4 separate regions of the Homo sapiens genome follow, and all the other regions are linked to region 2. The links are contacts of gene promoters, found by promoter capture Hi-C in blood cells and fetal thymus (Javierre and others, 2016). All regions are on one chromosome and are shown on one strand. Each heading gives the region's core, a stretch centred on a gene start or on the middle of the fragment in contact. The rest is flanking DNA. Distances are from core to core; before and after follow the strand shown.

Region 1 (4,606 bases), core at 13-2,512, 770 kb before region 2:
AGAAAAATATTAAATCCTGTATCAAACATGACTTAACCCATGCAAAATACTGTCCACTTCATTTACTTCTAATTCTGAATACAAATGTAATATAAGTCATGCATATAAAACACAAGATGTCTGACTTTAGATATATCTAAAAATCAAGAATTGTAAAATGAAAGAACAGCAAAAAAAAAATGCTGCTTAAATTTTCACAAATTTTCAGTTACACAAAGCCTTTAACTTAATTCTTTCCAACTACATTGATTTTCAACCATGATTATATTTTAACTTATTTTCTGATTCTAAAAGTGATGCATGTTCACTTTTATTAACATGTTTATAAACATATATGATTTCTGTTATTGTTACCTTTACACTACAGCAATCATTCTTTAAGAGGATTTACAACCTACTTATGTCACTTTAACATACTTCATGGTACTTTCCAGGTCATTATTCTGTCTAAATATAGTTAATGACCACACGGTATTCCTTCATACGGATGTAACACAGGTTGATATACCAACCCTTTATTTTAACCAAGCCAAAATACTTACATCATCCAAAAGCAGCATGAAGACAGAAATACTAGGAATTCATTTCATTATTAATGAAATTTGGTAGTATCATCTATCCTTCAGATTGCATGGAAGTATTTGAGAGGATGATTAAAAATCTTAAAGGAATTTAAAAGCAAAAAACATACCAACTATACTATCAAAAAATGCTCCACGTAGATGCCAATCATTCTTATCATTTAGGAAAGTAATCATGTGGGACAACAAAACATCGTTGGCTTTCTGACGTCCAAAGAATACACACAGCCGTGTTATTCCATTTTCCATCAAGGTTTGTTTTACAATATTTTCAGGGTCACTTAGCAAAGTAACAACTTTCTGCTGGACCATTTCATGTAAGGCTTGGAGCTCTAAAAAAAAAAAAAAAAGAAAGAAAGAAAGAAAGAAAAGAAATAGTTAAGAAAAGATCAATTTTTCCCCATACAGATAGTCCCAGTCTTCTTTCTTACTCATCAGAGAGACTGATTACAGAATCCACCGAAGACTTTAATCACCAATTTTTTGCATTATTCAAAGCTCTGAAGGATGGGAAACTGAAATATAAAGTGAAGAATATCCTAACAAGCAGATGCCACAAACATAGTTACTATCTCACTAATCAAATAGTTTCATTTATTAGCTCAAGGAGAAAATTATAGAGAAGCACCAGAAAGGAAATCACATTGCCCCAGTAAGATCCCAGTTAATCAAGGACTTGAAAATAATGGAATAGGATTAGGATATAATATGATGGTACTGAGCAATCCTTTTAGAAAATGTTTTTAAAGGTCAGTTTATTTTAGAAAGCCAGAAAACACACTGCAAGTTCTGTCAAGGCTTTACTTCATCTGGCCACTGTCTTCTCTGGTCTTACCTCTTCTCTTCCTCATCCTCACTTTTTCTCACTTATTTATTTACTTAGCTGCCTGTCTTCTTTTTACTAAAATGTAAGCTCAAGAGCAAGGATCGTTTCTATCGTATTCACCACCATGCTCTAGTGCTTAGGGCAGGCTCCTAATTGCCTGATGCAGAGCTAATCTTTAACAATTATCTGTGAATAAACAGAAGACAGGGGCCACTCTTGGTCCAGCTACTACTGTCAAGGAAAAAGGTAACTGGTCTGACATGCAAAACTATATGCTCACATTAAGAAAAACTTTAGATTCCCTCCCCAAAAATTTTACCATTTAACTTTATTATCTCAACAGGTCCAATTACATGGTTATAGGACAGTATTATTTTCCAAGTAATTCCATAAAAAAAGGCTAGGACTTCCTGATACATCCTCCTATAACTTCAAAATTATTCCACTGTATTCAACTCTAGATAATACATGTTGTCTAAAAATGGTGCCATTCTAACAAGTAACAATTGTAGTTGTTTGCAGCATAAAATTCTAAAAAACTAGATTTCTCTAGTTTTTCACAACTAGAAGCATCTTGGAGAAAATTACATCTATTACTTTACTTCTAAATCTTTTACTCAACAAACATTAAGTAAAAATCTGTAAAGAGTTGTATAACACAAAGAAACCTAAGACAAGGACTTTGACATCAATAAGTTTACCATCATCACATCTGTTCCTTTATGGTTTTTTGTAAATAACAAATAGTATGAAATAAAAACAATTTATGATTGAGGATACTCAGAATATACTCACGTAAGGAGAAAAGGTTTAGCTTCTTTAGCTATGATGTTTCTAATTTTTTCTTTTATGAGAATTATATAATTCAGCCAGCTTTACTGTTCACACAAATCAATTCTGGCTGACAAACAATTGACTTTAGTATCCATGGTGACAAGCTGATTATTTTTGAGCAAGATAACAGTATATGAGGATAGAGAGAATAATTAGACACCAGGGACTCTTCCTATCTAATATATAGATCTGGTATTCCTTCACCTTACATGAAAACTACAAATGATAGTTTTACAAGTTAGCATCAGCAATTCATTCTAAATAACAGGAAATCTGGAAGAGAAAATTATACAACCTGTGTCATAATTTCCATTTGGATGTGTAACCTCATCTATTTCTTCATTATTGGGGTCATTTTCCATATTAAGATTTTTTAACTGTACTAATTCCAGGAATCTCAGAGCTGTTTCTGCCAGCAGAGCTATGTTTTCTATAAAATAAAAAGGAAGAAAATTTATAATTACAATCTTAACTCTCTGTAAAGCTTATTAACTTTTCCTCCCTGTCTTTATACATAAATAATCATAAGCCTATGGGAAAAACAGAACTTTTCAATTTAGCATTTAACTTAATCAGATTTTAGTAACCCAGCTCATAATCTGTAACTGTCTCCAAACCACTAGTCTTATTTTTGAAACACAGCTTAAAAAAATAATAATATAAAAATAATCTAATACCTCATCTACTGAGGACCAAAAAAAAAAAAAAGCCTAATTCTCTGCAGGGACTTACCTTTTAAACAGTATCCTTGACAAGTGAGAGATATTTATTAGACTAACAAAGAAACATCCACATTAAAATAACAGATAAAGCTAAGCTTTGGCATCAGAAAGACCTGGGTTCAAATCTCAACCTTGCCACTTACTAACTTGACCATTTAAGCAATCTGAGACTGTTTCTTCACATATAAATGAAAAGTCACAACTGCCTCAAAGAGAAACCATTGTTAGACTGCTTTACAAGTGATACTCAAGTTCTTAGTGAACCAAAGTGGCAGACTGTTTGCACATTTCTACAGTTGTCTATATCTTCTCCTTTCTCTTTCTGATGACCTACAAAGACTGTCTGATATTCCTCACCACTACAAAATAACTACTTCTAATTTCTGCTGTCACATTTACTATCAATTGTATCTGCTCTTCACTTACACTTTCTTCTCCTACCTTGCCTCCCACTTAACATATGTGTTTCTTAACATATGATCACAACCGGTCAAAGACTGTACTCTTTTCCTTCTTAGCAGTGAATAGCACTGAACGTAAAGTTTAACTACCTTAAACTTAAAATAACCTTACTTTTTCCTTGCTTTCCAACATCTCTGAAATCAAAATGTACCTTATGGCAGTTGAGATCTTTGAGTCAATCAAACACAATTATTCCCTTCATCCTGGGTCCCACTCCCCACCCCTGCTAGGTTCAACAATGCTCTGAATAGAATAAAAATTTACCTCTAAGTAAGCAAGATGTAAATACCCTATAACGCCTGCTCGCCCTAAAAATGGAAAAACTCTGGGCCATATCCTGATAATATGTCAAAATTCTAGATGAATATCCCCACTTTAATGAGCAAATCTTTATTAGGAAAAGTCTCTTACTTTCCTGGGCACCTCTAAAGTCTGAGTAGATCTATGCTTATTTCCCCTTTTAAGTCCATAAACCACAGCACACTTGGAAGTTCACTTTACACAAATCTGTACCAGCATCTATGATATTTAAAAAATACTGTAAAGAAACAAATGTTGATTTTAAACTTTTATAATTACTGACACATGTATTTTAATTATATTTAACCATACACATTCAAATACACTGGCTCTATTTTAAAAGACCGCAAATTAGCCAGGCGTGGTGGCACACACCTATAGTGCTTGGAAGGCTACGTTTGGAGGATGGCTTGAGCCTGGGAAGTCAAAGCTGCAGTGAGCCATGATCTCCCCACTGCATTCCAGCCTGGGTGATCACATACTGGGCCTTGAAGAAATAACAATGCAAGGTGCTGGCACTGACCCTGGGTTATCACGGACTCTCACCATAAAGACCCAGAAGACCAAAGAAAAGCAGGATTGCTTCAAAACCAAGGTGTAGAGCAGGAGCTCTGAGAACTGAGAATTAGACCGGATACATTTGGGTCATGTTATTTAGTCTCTCCTAACCCCAGTTTCCTCACCTGTCATATGAAGGTAATATAACATCTAACGCTCAAGGTTGTTGCAGCTAACCCTTACAACAACCTAGAGCAGATTTTTCAATAAACAGTAGCTATTATTTTTATGTGATAGCTATTAGTAACTGAGTGTCAATATGTTAATATGGCACCTCATCAGAACATGACCCGTTTAACACAATTGAGAACAGATTAAGATAC
Region 2 (4,027 bases), core at 1-2,500:
AAAAGAAAAAATAAATAAAACCAAACCACAATTTAAAAACTTCCTCCACTTAATATAGAAAAGGGAAGTCACAAATTGGAAAGTGTAGTCAGGGCCTTGGGAAAGGGCTTGGATTCTGTATACCTTTTTTTCAGGTCTCCAACCTTTTCCTCACTCCCCACATTCCTTCGGATAAGGCTCACATTTAAACTGTTAGTCGTTACCCTGGAGAAAAAAATTCATCTTCTCCTCGCAGATAAACATATTCCCCAAAAAACAGTCCTACCTATAGACATGAAAAGCCACTAACCCATTTGGAAGTGTACCTTAATAGTTTTACATTCAGTGGAGGTGGCAGAAGGTGGCATGTTGATCTTTGTCTAACAAGCTCACCTCCTCCCTGCAATGACATGGCCTAGGTTCAGAGAAGTGAAGAAACTGGGTGTGCAAAGTTAAAAGATCCACAAAAGGCATGACCTCTGAACAGGTGAACATACCAAGAAAGACCTTAGTGGGCGGAGGTCAGGAAGAAGGGGTGTAATTCTTGCATGGAGGGTCAGAACAGAAGTAAAGCTTTCTGCAGTCTACTCTCCTTTTGTAGTCAGATAAATTCAGGCTAGATTCCTAATTTTCCACTTATTAGTTGAGTGACTTTGGGCAAATTAACTCACCTCCCTAACCTTCAGTTTTATCTGTAAACCTTATGATAGCAGTTTGCTCCCGTGAGGCTACATAAGGCACCTAATACACTTAGCAGAGCGCTTAGTACCTGGCAAACGCTCACTAATTGTAAGATATGATTGCTGTTAATAGCGTTCGCTGCTAGTGGCTGGCTCATAAGCGTTTTTTAAAAATCACCACTTCAATCCCCTTAGAACGTGCTTCCTTAGGTTAACGGCCCTTATTCTTCTGTGTCCCACGTCTCAACAGAGCCCCTTCCTCCTCCACCCAGGGGAGGCCCAACTGCACCAGGCCATTCCACTGCTTCAGGACGCAACTGTGCAGGTAGGACACCCTCACACCTTCCTACCTGTTCCCCGGGCCCAGGGCAGCACCCAGGCCGTCCCCGAGTCGACCCAGCACCTGGGCGCCGACCTGCGTCAGCAGCCTCCAACCCGGCATGGATTAGCCCGGGAAGACTCGACTCACGACTTCCGGGCGCCCTGCCGCTCTGCTTTCAGGGAGTCCCCACGCCACCGCCACGTGGACGCAGTAGCCGTGGGGAAGTTTTCGCAATGGCCGCCGGAACGGTCGCCGGCCGATGCTCTCTGCGACGGAAAGAAAGCCGCCGGACCCACTTCCGGTGCGTTTTACAATGAACTCCGGGCACTCGAGTCGCTCCCCGGAAACTATAGTTCTGCTTCCACCGTTGTCCTACTTTGGATGTGAGTTGGAGTAGGTAGGGGTGGGAAGGGACTGACTCGCCTCTCCAGGGGTAAAATAAAAGGGATGTTCAGAGTTTAAACTTTAGAAGAATAAGGACAGACTTCCTGAGGACGCTAAGGAAAATGAAGACACTTCTAAATAGTGCCCGTTGTGAGGCAATGCATTATGCTAAGCAGCGCTTCATAATCCTATATTTGTTAATCATAAAAAACGGTCCTGAAAGGAAGTATTTATTTTTCTATTATAAATGAGGAAACTGACTCAGAATTTAGGTGCTGGTCCAAAACAACACATCTGGCAGAGGAGCAGAGTTGGCACTGAAACAGGGTTGGCATGTGTTATCAATAGACTACACCCATAGAAATGATGTATGCCTTCTAGGGCTGGATCATAAAACATATTGTTACTTCAGTTTTTGTCTCTTGGATTGCTCCCTGTGGAGAAAGCTAGCCTTCATTTCCTGCAGACACTCAAACAGCTCTGCAGGGAGGAACATATAAAGAGGAATCAACTAGCCAGTCATGACTGAGCCACCTAGGAAGTGGATCCACCAGTCCTCGGCTGCAACTCATGGAGACGTTAAGCCTGAATCTCCCAGCCAGGCCGCTCATGAATTACTGACTAGGAGAAATTGCCAGAGAAAATAAATGATTACCGTTTTTTTGAGTCATTAAGCTTTAGGGTAATTTGTTATGCAATAATAGATAGCTAATACACCTGCACAAAAAATCCCCTGTCTTGGGTTCCAGATCTAGCCTAATAACCATGTATGTGACTAGGACATTTATTCTTCTACTAATTCCCTTATTTGTCAGATTACTGTTTGTAGAAATTTGGAAATAAGAACTTTAAAGTGTAGCTATTTCAACCTTCTCTTTTTACTAGAGATCTGGCTATCTTGGTTTAACAGGTCCAGACAATGGTCAATTCCTGGCCATTACTTGGACTTTAGTGGGCTAAAAAATCTTTGCTTTGCTTGTCCATTCATTCCACTCATTGCTGTTGCAGTTACCTTAGACACTTTTCAATAATACTTTGGACCTTGAAGGAAAAACTACATCTCTTCATTCTAGCCATGCTGCCTGGCTTCCCAGATACTTAAGGATGGCTCTTCATTGAACAAACATGTTTTGAGGTGTGCTACATGCAAGAAGTTGAGAATAAGAAGATTTCTGTACTACTGCCAATAACTAACATTTCTTATCCATATAGTGTGCTAGAGTATGTGCTCAGCATTGTGGAAGCCCATAAGCCAAGGCTACTAGAAGAAAACGTGAACTCATACAAAGTCAAGTTTAATTAGCTTGATGCAGCAAAAGACAGCATATGTCTGAGGATGTTTCCAAAAGAGTGACCTGGGAGGGGCTTGAAATGAAATTTGGACTTAAGGCTGAGTGATTTTAAAGTGGCATCAGAGAAGCAGGAACTTGTTTTAGAATGGGTGCTGTCAAGAAGAAAGGACAGTTCAGCAATTGGATATCTTGATAGTCTTTGTTCTAGAGACAGGAAGAACAGAGAGGAAGTGGGCATGATGTTCATAAGAAAGCAGGAATCACTCAGAATAAGGAACTGTTAGTCATTTTGCTGCAGTGGTGTGGCCTACAGTACGGTCTGTAAGAAATATTGTAATGATGGGCTGGGCGTGGTGGCTCAGCACTTTGGGATGCCAAGGCGGGTGGATCACGAGGTCAGGAGATTGAGACCATCCTGGCTGACATGGTGAAACCCCTTCTCTACTAAAAATACAAAAAAAAATTAGCCGGGCGTAGTGGCGGGTGCCTGTAGTCCCAGCTACTCAGGAGGCTGAGGCAGGAGAATGGTGTGAACCTGGGAGGCGCAGCTTGCAGTGAGCGAGATTGAGCCACTGCACTCCAGCCTGGGTGACAGAGCAAGACTCCGTCTCAAAAAAAAAAAAAAGAAATATTGTATTGATGTTCTGCTATAAACACTGCAGTCCAGTTACTAATAGTATTCATTTTTACTCTCTCAGTGTATTTTCTCACTTGATTGTTATGACAATCTGCTGTGACAATAGTATAATTATCTGGATCTTACAGTTAAGAAAATAGGCATACAGAGATTACATAACTTAAATAAAATCACCCAGCTATTAACTGGTAGAGCCAAAGACTGTGACCATAGATAGAGCTTATGCTTTTAGACATTTTGTTTCTTTGGCTCTCTATGACAAATATGTCACTACTCTTGCCTTGGAATTTCTTTAAGGCTAAAGAGGAAAATCGGTAAGTAATCACACGCAGTGGTCAGTGAGGATTGAAGAGGTAGCCATTTGGTCTAACCTTTTCCCATAGTACCAAATATCTCCTAGTCCATAAGGAGGACCTTGACAGCAGGCACCACCGCTGAACTGAATCAAAGTAAAACATGGTTTGTCTGCTGTCGTAAAAAATGTGTCTCCTGATTGCCAGCCAGGGCTGAGTGGTGTCATACTTGATTTAGTCACTGTAATATGCTGCTGACAGCTACTAGGCCCAGTTGTCAAGGGACCCAGCCTAGGCTTTTCTAGGGCAGTCAGGCACTGACCTAGAGCTTCCTGTTATTTCTGATGTCATCCTTCAGACACTGCCTTAGACCCTGAAACTGTAATGCCATTTTGCCTCTCTAAGATTTCAATTCCTTATTGGAACGAAGATAACTTGCA
Region 3 (4,367 bases), core at 779-3,278, 520 kb after region 2:
TGCTCAAGCATGTCTTCCTTGCTGAAATATAATATCCAGAAGGTCAGGATTATGTCTGTTTCGTTCATCCCACATTACCAAAGTCTAGTACAGCACATTACATGATACATGATAGGGTCTCAATAAATAATCATAAATTGATTGACAGGGTGGCTGTGAGTCTTAAATAGAATAATGTGTATAAAGTGCCCCATGAGGTACCTGGCAGATGGCAAATGTCATAGGTGCTCAGTAAATGCCAGATCCCTTTCTTTACCACTAATGCTGTTCTCAGTGGTACCACACAGGAGACAAAATTCATGGCTTGTCTACATAAAGTAAATATTTAAGGCACTGGTTCCCAAAGTGTGGTGTCCAAACTAGTAGCATCAGTATCACCTTTAGAAGTTGTTAGAAATCAAATTATTTTACTCCTACCCTAGACCCACTGAGTTAGAAATTCCACAGGAAGGGCCCATCACTTCGGGTTTTAACAAGCCCTCCAGGAGATTCGGAGATTCTGACTCATCCTCAAGTTTGAGAACCATGGCTTGAAGATAATATTTTATGCCAGTAACATTTTAGACTTTCGTAACAGAGAGATACCCAATATGTTGTCTAATGCTGGCAGCCTAAGATCCTTTTGGGACAAGGGCAGGGGAAACAAAGTCAAATACAATAAATTTCTGCTGCTGGTCTTGTAGGGTGGAATGATTGATTTTGTATTCTGGTTGTGTTCCTGGGGCCAGTACTAAACGTACCTTTCATTTGAAATAAAGCTGGAACCATTAGAAACAGAGGAAGTTTTATCTTAGAGAAACTCCAGCATAACGCTTGAGTCACCTTTTGTGGCTGGGCATAAAATTTGTGAGTAGGAACAGAGAGAGAGGAGAGGAGGAAAGGGAGAAGAAGGGTAAATGATTCAGTAGCTATGAAAAGCATACATTTTGTTGCTGATATCTACCATACCTTCATAAACACACTTCTAATTTTCACAATTCCCCTGCAACACAGCAAACCATTACCATTAGGGTAATTAACTACTAATAAGCCTCTAGTTTGTGAGAGATGCCACCAGCAAATAAAGGTTGCAATTTGAGTAATTTCCAAGTGACAGCAAGCTTCACAGCCATCCTATAACATAGACACAATCATTATTCTCATTCTATATCTATGAAAACTGAGCTTCAACAGGTTAAGCAGAGCTGAAATTCAAACCTAGGAATTCCTGACTTAAAATTTATGCCATTCACCAATACACAATCTTACCTACCTACATACAACACACAGAATAGTCTTGCAAATATAGTGGAGCACATTTGAGGTGAGGACTGTGATTTAAAGTCAATGCGTAAAGTACAACACACACGTAGTCAAAATAATCCTTGAAAAATATTATAAATTTTTCATGAAGTACAATATATGTTGTATTACAGATACAACTATGTGCAGTAGTAATATGTCATACAACTTCATATATCAATTTGGATGATATGATAAAGTCAATAATCAAAATATAATAAGAATATTTTTAATAAATGAGAGCAGGCGTAGAATAGATTTTGAGTAAGTTAAAAGCATGCTTTGCCTGGATGCAGGATATTTGCTAAGGGAATGGAGATGCACCCAGAGTGACAGAGGGAGTATCCTATGTGCCAAAAAAGTTCTAGGTTCTCTGGAGTCATATCAAGAAGTGTGATATACAACTGCTACTTGGAAAAGCTTGCAACATGCTACAGACATGGTCATATCTATGAATAACCATGTTACAAGGCACACAATGCAGGGGCTGAAGCATAGCCAGGCCAGGAGAGGGTATGGTAAAGAGAATTAACTTCAACTTGGAGAATCCAAGCCCAAGAAGCAAAGATCTTATGAAGCATGGACTGGATAAATGTGCCCTGGTCTGAATTGGAATAGGGATACCCTAAATTTCATTCCTCTTCCTCCCAGTTGCCAGTGCTTTGACAACTGACCAAATTATTTATAAAACAGTACTATTAATATCTAACCCACAGAATATACACTTCTAGTGACTGTGTATGTATTTATATTTATATAATTAAATAATTTTATTTTTCTGCAAGATAAATGCATATTATCTGAAATAAATTAACATTACTTTTTAAAAGAAGTACTATATCCCACTTTAAATCTTCTCAGGATGGATGGAGAGCAAGGTTGGGAAAGTAGGAAAAAAACATTGAGTGCATACATACAGTGAGTCAAGGCCTCTCTTCTGCCTTATAGCCTTATATATATGGTTTAATCTCCATTTTTACAAATGAGGAAATAGGGACAGGTTTAGTAATTTCCCCAAAGCAAAACAGCTATTAAGTGCCAGAGCCAGCGTTCAAACTAAGTATGCTTACTTTTAAAGCTTAAGCCCTTATCATAACAAAACTTAACACATATTTGTCTTTATCAAACTGCATTGCAACCCTGTGATTTCTTGGCACATTTCCTGATATGAGTGAGGAAGAAAGAAACAGCTTATTTCATTCAGTCAACCAAAAGTTTTTGAGCAACTACTAGGTACCTAGCACTGTTTGGGGTTCAGTTGTGAGCAAGACAGAGAGAGTTCTGACCCCCTGAAGCATGAAGTGGAGAGGAGAGAGGAGTGTGGTGTGGCATGGGCCAGAGAAGAACCCCAGGCCCAGGAGTGAAGAAGCCTTTATTCTCACTGCTGTAACTAGGCCACCAACGAGCTTGAGCAAGTCACTTCACCTTGCTGAGTCTCTTTTTTCTTATCTGGAAAATGGGAGGGGTGTGCATAATTTTATGGGATTGCCAAGTTCTCACATTCTCTTATTCCATAAGAGGCATTTATTTTCCCATCTTTTTAAAATTAAATCAGGTTAGGAGCTATCATGAGTGTTATTAGTTGCCAAAAAATCAACTATTTCCACTCTTTTCCTCTTATCGTGCCTTTTCTCCAATACAATTCACAATCAGTCAAGTCACAGGACGTAAAGGCCACCAAGCAAAAGAAATCTGACAATGGCTTCTCGGGAGCTCTGCAGTCTACCTGGCCAGATAACGTTAACACACATGATCAAAGGTGTCCATCCCTAGTTTCACATTAGCACAATGTCAGGTGCAAAACTCCTTGACTTTTGCCACTGAAATTTATATCTCTGAGTTACCTGTTGAATCAACTGCTCCGAAGATAACAAAGACATCACCTCAGTCATCTTGCAATGCTAGTGGCTACTAACATCTTAAAAGCCTTCTTTGTCTTTAATGATAATGATAAAGTATTGTTTTGGGCCATTCTATTGCCCTTATTATTTTTCATTTTTATGGATATTTGTATGAAATACACCTTTCAATATTTTTAAAACAGAGTTCTTATTTAGATTGTTTCAGACCCATCACTTAATGGTAAAGGTTCTTGGTTATATTTCTATTACATTTCCTTCCAAATCATTTTCTGTTTAAATGAATTAAGTCAATGATTTAGGCATTTACTTCATGATATTGATGAAATTACTACATACAGGGCATGGTGCAAGTTGATTAGATTTTAGAATCTCTATTAGCGCTGTTAAGAATACATACAAACCAAAGTGCCTGCTGAATGAGATGCCACCCCCTCCACTTCTCCCTCAAAATTACCTTCTGTCCACCTGTTTCCTTGAAATACAGGGAGAGGAAAAACACCTTAGTATAACAGGACTTGTAAAGGACCACTTCCCAGGTCCTTTGAGACAAACCAAATATCTCCTTCTTTATCTCTTACCTAGCATCATTTGTTCATCTTTCTCCTCACACTTAACAGCACAATTTCAATGTTTCTTTTCACCAGTCTGCCTGTGCCTCAAGTTTTTATGTTTATCCCCAGTGCCTAGCACAGCTTTTGACATAAATGCTGTGACCAATTATTATTCAACAGATAGATGAATGAGACCCTTCTGCTGAGGGGGAAGGGGTAAGAGATGGGGGAAGGGATAAGAGATGGGAGAAGAGGCCCATTTAAAAATAAAATGGTGATAGCAAATAACAATCACAGTGAACCTGTGTTAAGCTCCTATTGTGTGCCAAGCATTGTATATATTATTGCTAACCTTTAACAAAAAGGAAAAATGGCGAAAGTAATTTTATTTTCTCTTCTTATAGATCTGCACTGTTTCAATAGGGTAGCCACTACCCACATAGGAGCATTAAGCACTTAAAATGTGGCAAATCTGAATTAAAATGTGCTGTAAGTATAAAAATACATGCTAGATTTCAAAGATTTAGTACTAGAAAAAAAAGAATGTAAAATATCTCAATAATCTCTATATCGATTACATGATTTTTTAAAATTTTGTGTTAAGTAAAATATATTCTTAATTTTTCTTTTTTTTTTTTTTAAAGGGTGAAGTTTGGGGAGAACTCCCAAGAGA
Region 4 (4,157 bases), core at 662-3,161, 920 kb after region 2:
CTAACCAACTAAGCATTTGGACTTCTGGACTTTTTTCTTTTTCCTTTTTTTTTTTCTTTTTTCAGACCTCACTCTGTTGCCCAGGCTGGAATGCAGTGACACGATCATAGCTCACTGTAGCCCTGATCTCCTGGGCTCAAGCGATCCTCCCACCTTAGCCTCCTTAGTATCTGGAGCCATAGGCACGCCATGCCCAGCTAACTTTTTTTTATTATTATTATTTTTAGTAGAGACGAGGTCTCACTATGTTGCCCAGGCTAGTCTCAAACTCCTGAGCTCAAGCAATCCTCCCACCTCAGCCTCTCAGAATGCTGGGATTACAGGTGTGAGCCACCATACCTGGCTCACTTGGACACTTGAAAGTCGTATGGTGTGGATGGTACTTATCTTTGGGACTGTAATGTATGTTGAATATCTAGTCTCATCCACTAAATGCTAGTAGTGCTCCCAGTCATAGTGCCTCAGATGGGATGGCATCCTAGCCCAACCATTACTTTAGTTCAAAATTTTAATCAGTGGTTTTCAACATATTTTTTCTGTTTCAGCAGTGTTCACATACCCAGCATATGCCAATTTATAACACTTCTTGTTATGTGGAGTGATTCTTAATCATAGGAACTCCTTTGAGAGTAACTGAGTTAGATTTCTTTGTAACAAATAGTTTAAACCAACATGGTTATGATCATCTTTGCTAATTTAAGATAGTTACCTGTGCAAAGGTACATTTAGGTGTGGTTCAGTCAATAAAACCATATAGCTTGCTAGTAATTCTTTTCAGATGCTCTTTATTCAATAGTCGACATATGGGAGTTTTACTTGTACTTTCATGGACTACTTGTGAAAAAGAGTGAGCTTTAAAGTCAGTGGAATTTTACAGTTTAAGCACTCAAGTTGCCCTTAGAAGAACACTGCCTAGTCACATATTTAGCACATGCCCAGTGGTAATATCTCTTTGCAATGGATTAATAAGAGTTTGATATTTTGATTATCAGATAGAAAACAAAACCCCTAAAGCAATCCAGAATTATTTTAGCTGGGTGCACAATAATCACACGTGTAATCCCAGCACTTGGAAGGCTGAGGCGGGAGGATCACTCGAGGCCAGGAGCTCCAACCTAGCTTGAGCAACCCCGTCTCATCAAAAAATGAAATAACTAGCTGGCTGTGGTGACGTGTGCTCGGGAGGCTGAGGCAGGAGGATTGCTTGAACCCAGGAGACTGAGATTACAGTGAGCTATGATTGTGTTGCTGCGTTTCAGTCTGGGTGACAAAGGAAGACCCTGTCTCTTAAAAAAAATTATTTCGACGCTTTGATTTTTGCCAGCTCTAGTTGCCACAACTTAATGGAAGGGTTGGTGAGGTTATGAATGGAGGAGATGTTCTCTAATATTTCATGTATTCTGTAATACATTTAAACGCTTATACATGGTGTTCTCACTTTTATTGTATTCCTTAGTCATCTAAGGCTATGGGGTTTCTCTCCTCAAACTTCTAGTCAAGCTACAGAATGTATTTTGAATGTTTATCAAATCTTAGAGCAGATAAGCCATTTTCCCCCCAAATCTTAGCACTAATGGGCTTAATTTTAAAAGTGAAACTTTGCTTTTTTAAGATAATTTGGTAGTGTTCTATAAACTGTAAAGCGCCACAGAAGAGGTAGGAATAATAGGGATATTTCAGAACTAAACTAGAAATGTATGTTTTTGCTATTTTGTATTGAGTGAAGGGGAAATTGTAGCAAATTAAACTTTTGTCTTTTAATAGTATAAAAAGAACAGTGTTTGGGTTTTCAGGATGCTTTCTGTAAAACTGTCTTCAAGTTGTATGTGTTAAAAGCTTAGGAAATTTAGTCCCGCATTATGCATTTACTGTAATGATAGGAAAAACAGCAACAAGTTAAAATATGGCTGCTAAAAATTTCTTTTGCCCATTTCAGGGCCTGTTTACCATAGTAGAGCATGATTATTAAGTGCCTTAATAAGCTGATAAGCTTAATAAGTTGATAAGCTGAAGACCTTACAGAAATAGTATAGTTTGTTCTTGCATAAGCCAGGTTATGCTTCAAAGATAAAATGAAATAGAAATTAGGTCTATAAAGTTACAATAATGTGTATAAACTAAAAATATGTAAATGATCAATAGCAATGATTTCAAAGCATTGCTTAAGTGAACATGTTTCTGGAAAGAAAGCTTTCAGGTGAGTATTTTAAGGCATTTTTAAGCTTTGGAAAGGGAAGGGTCATAGTAATACATCTTTCACAGAAAATTTGAATTTTTTTAACAACAGATAAACTTCTGTTTTGTCAGAAATACAAATTATTCCCCTCAGATGAAATGAGCATACATGTGATAGAAATAGAAGAGACAGGTCTCTTTTCAATACTTGATTTATACTGTTGAATAGAAGAGGTCAAAAAAAGTAACTGCTATGGTAAGTATGCTTGTCCCCTCCTCCCATTAAGTGTTTCTTCAGATTTAGGGGTTGCTTTTGAATTTTTCTTGCCCTGTATTTCATTAATATATACTCAGTTTGTAATAGAAAGGAATCAAGTTTTTAAAAACAATGGTGGAGATCTCATATTATTTCAGCTACCCTATGGTAGTGAAACTAGTTAAAAGTTGATTATGATGTGACAGTACAATCACTTCACTTTAAAATATCTGGGCAATTATTTGAAGATATGATTATCAGATGAAATTTGATATTACCGCTGGCTTTTTTTATTCTTCAACGACATCTATCTCTGGAGGTATCGGGTTCTTCAGTAAGTTAAGGAAGGCTAAGATGGTAGGTACTAAAATCTTTGTGATGTATTTATGGTTTGTTTTAAGATTCCTGTTGGTATCATACATATTACACATACTGATTTGTTGTTCATTTAGAAGAAAATGCTTTTACCTGTACTTGAGTCATATATTAAAATGAAGCTAAAATTTAAAAATAGGGTTAAAGTTCATATGGCAGTTTCCCCCATACACAGCACATTCTATCTAAACAGTTTAGTTGTAGCTATTTAATCTGGGTAAAAATGAACATTCTGTTAGCCATTCATATTTTTTACCATTTGTTTGAAACCAAACTAATCTAGTGCTATGATTTACTCAGATTTTGAATCCAGTTACAAACAAACCTAGATCCTCAAGAAGCCAATATAAGATATTCTATCTATTACTCTTATTAGTTATTTTTTCAAAGGGTTAGTCTTTCCATGGTTCTCCTTACTACCCCTCCCTTTTTGGTAAGATATAGCTGTAGGAAGTATTACGTTCATAAATTAGTTCCTATGATGTGAATGTCTGCTACATTTTAAGTGTGGTTTTGGAATGTAGCATTGTTTCTGTTGTAGGAGAGTTTGATCAGAAAAGGCAAACTCCACAATTTTCACCCAACATATTGTAAACATTTTCACCTACAGCCAGGTTGAAAGAACTTTACATTAGATACCCACATGCCCACCTAAAGGTTTTTACATTAACATTTTACTGTACTTGCTTTATCACAGATCTGTCCATCTTTCCATCAATCCATCTTATTTTTTATGCATTTCAAAACAAATTCACATTTTTAGTTATTGAGGGCAGAGCTAATGAAAGTAAGTTCCGTTCTTGCATTTTACAGACTCAAAATGGGAAAATCAGTAGCTTACCTGTTCTCTGCAAGTTGTCATATTTGTGTAAAAATTACTTCCAGTTGATGATGCTAAATACGTGCTTTAAACAGGTGACTAGCCTGATTAATGCCAATCCTTCTTTCACTAGTGTATTTTTTTCTAAGTGTATTCATTCATCCCTAGTTAAATGAGTGTTCTGCTTGTGTTTTTGCTTAACACAAGCCATGTGTATATACTTAATTTTGCTGTGTGTGTAAATTTTTTTGCTTATAGCTTGACCGTAATTGGCTTGAGTGTCTGTGGTGTTGAGTCCCTTCATCTTGCTTTTGTTCTTAGTGTCAACTTGATGTAGGCTTCTTCTCACTGGACTCCCAAATCCTGTGGTTTTCTGTCAAAATTATGTGTCTTCTAAAAGATCATTCTCATTTTAACCATAAATGATCTTAAATGGTTTGCCAGTATTACTGCCAGTAATAAATTAGAGAATGCAAGAATATTGTGTTGTTCGAAAGCATGATGCAGTAGTATTCATTGAGAGAGGTGAAT

The links. Contacts are between HindIII fragments. The CHiCAGO score rates a contact against its expected background, and 5 or more counts as called.
Region 1: a fragment that was not itself captured here is called in contact with the fragment with the promoter of MRPL3 in region 2 in 4 of 17 cell types (non-activated CD4 T cells, total CD4 T cells, total CD8 T cells and 1 more); the score reaches 9.1 in non-activated CD4 T cells.
Region 3: a contact is called between a fragment that was not itself captured here and the fragment with the promoter of MRPL3 in region 2, in 2 of 17 cell types (megakaryocytes and erythroblasts). The highest score is 7.9, in megakaryocytes.
Region 4: a contact is called between a fragment that was not itself captured here and the fragment with the promoter of MRPL3 in region 2, in 2 of 17 cell types (total CD8 T cells and activated CD4 T cells). The highest score is 5.0, in total CD8 T cells.

The regions. Positions count from the first base shown.
Region 1 is chr3:130,727,772-130,732,377 of GRCh38, forward strand. PIK3R4 (phosphoinositide-3-kinase regulatory subunit 4) reads right to left here. Exons shown (of 20, transcript NM_014602.3): 5 at 2,537-2,671; 6 at 692-913. Among named protein-coding and RNA genes, the nearest start is that of PIK3R4, 17 kb to the right of the region's middle. The HindIII fragment of the contact is 2,921 bases long and covers 1-2,723 here.
Region 2 is chr3:131,501,721-131,505,747 of GRCh38, forward strand. MRPL3 (mitochondrial ribosomal protein L3) reads right to left here and starts at 1,251. Exons shown (of 10, transcript NM_007208.4): 1 at 1,010-1,251. The coding sequence starts at 1,101. LOC105374114 (a long non-coding RNA gene) reads left to right here and starts at 879. Exons shown (of 3, transcript NR_189111.1): 1 at 879-984. RefSeq lists enhancers at 887-1,573, 1,080-1,149. The HindIII fragment of the contact is 1,488 bases long and covers 551-2,038 here.
Region 3 is chr3:132,024,605-132,028,971 of GRCh38, forward strand. All of the region lies in intron 1 of CPNE4 (copine 4), which reads right to left. Among named protein-coding and RNA genes, the nearest start is that of CPNE4, 8.2 kb to the right of the region's middle. The HindIII fragment of the contact is 658 bases long and covers 1,700-2,357 here.
Region 4 is chr3:132,421,992-132,426,148 of GRCh38, forward strand. All of the region lies in intron 1 of DNAJC13 (DnaJ heat shock protein family (Hsp40) member C13), which reads left to right. Among named protein-coding and RNA genes, the nearest start is that of DNAJC13, 6.6 kb to the left of the region's middle. The HindIII fragment of the contact is 154 bases long and covers 1,835-1,988 here.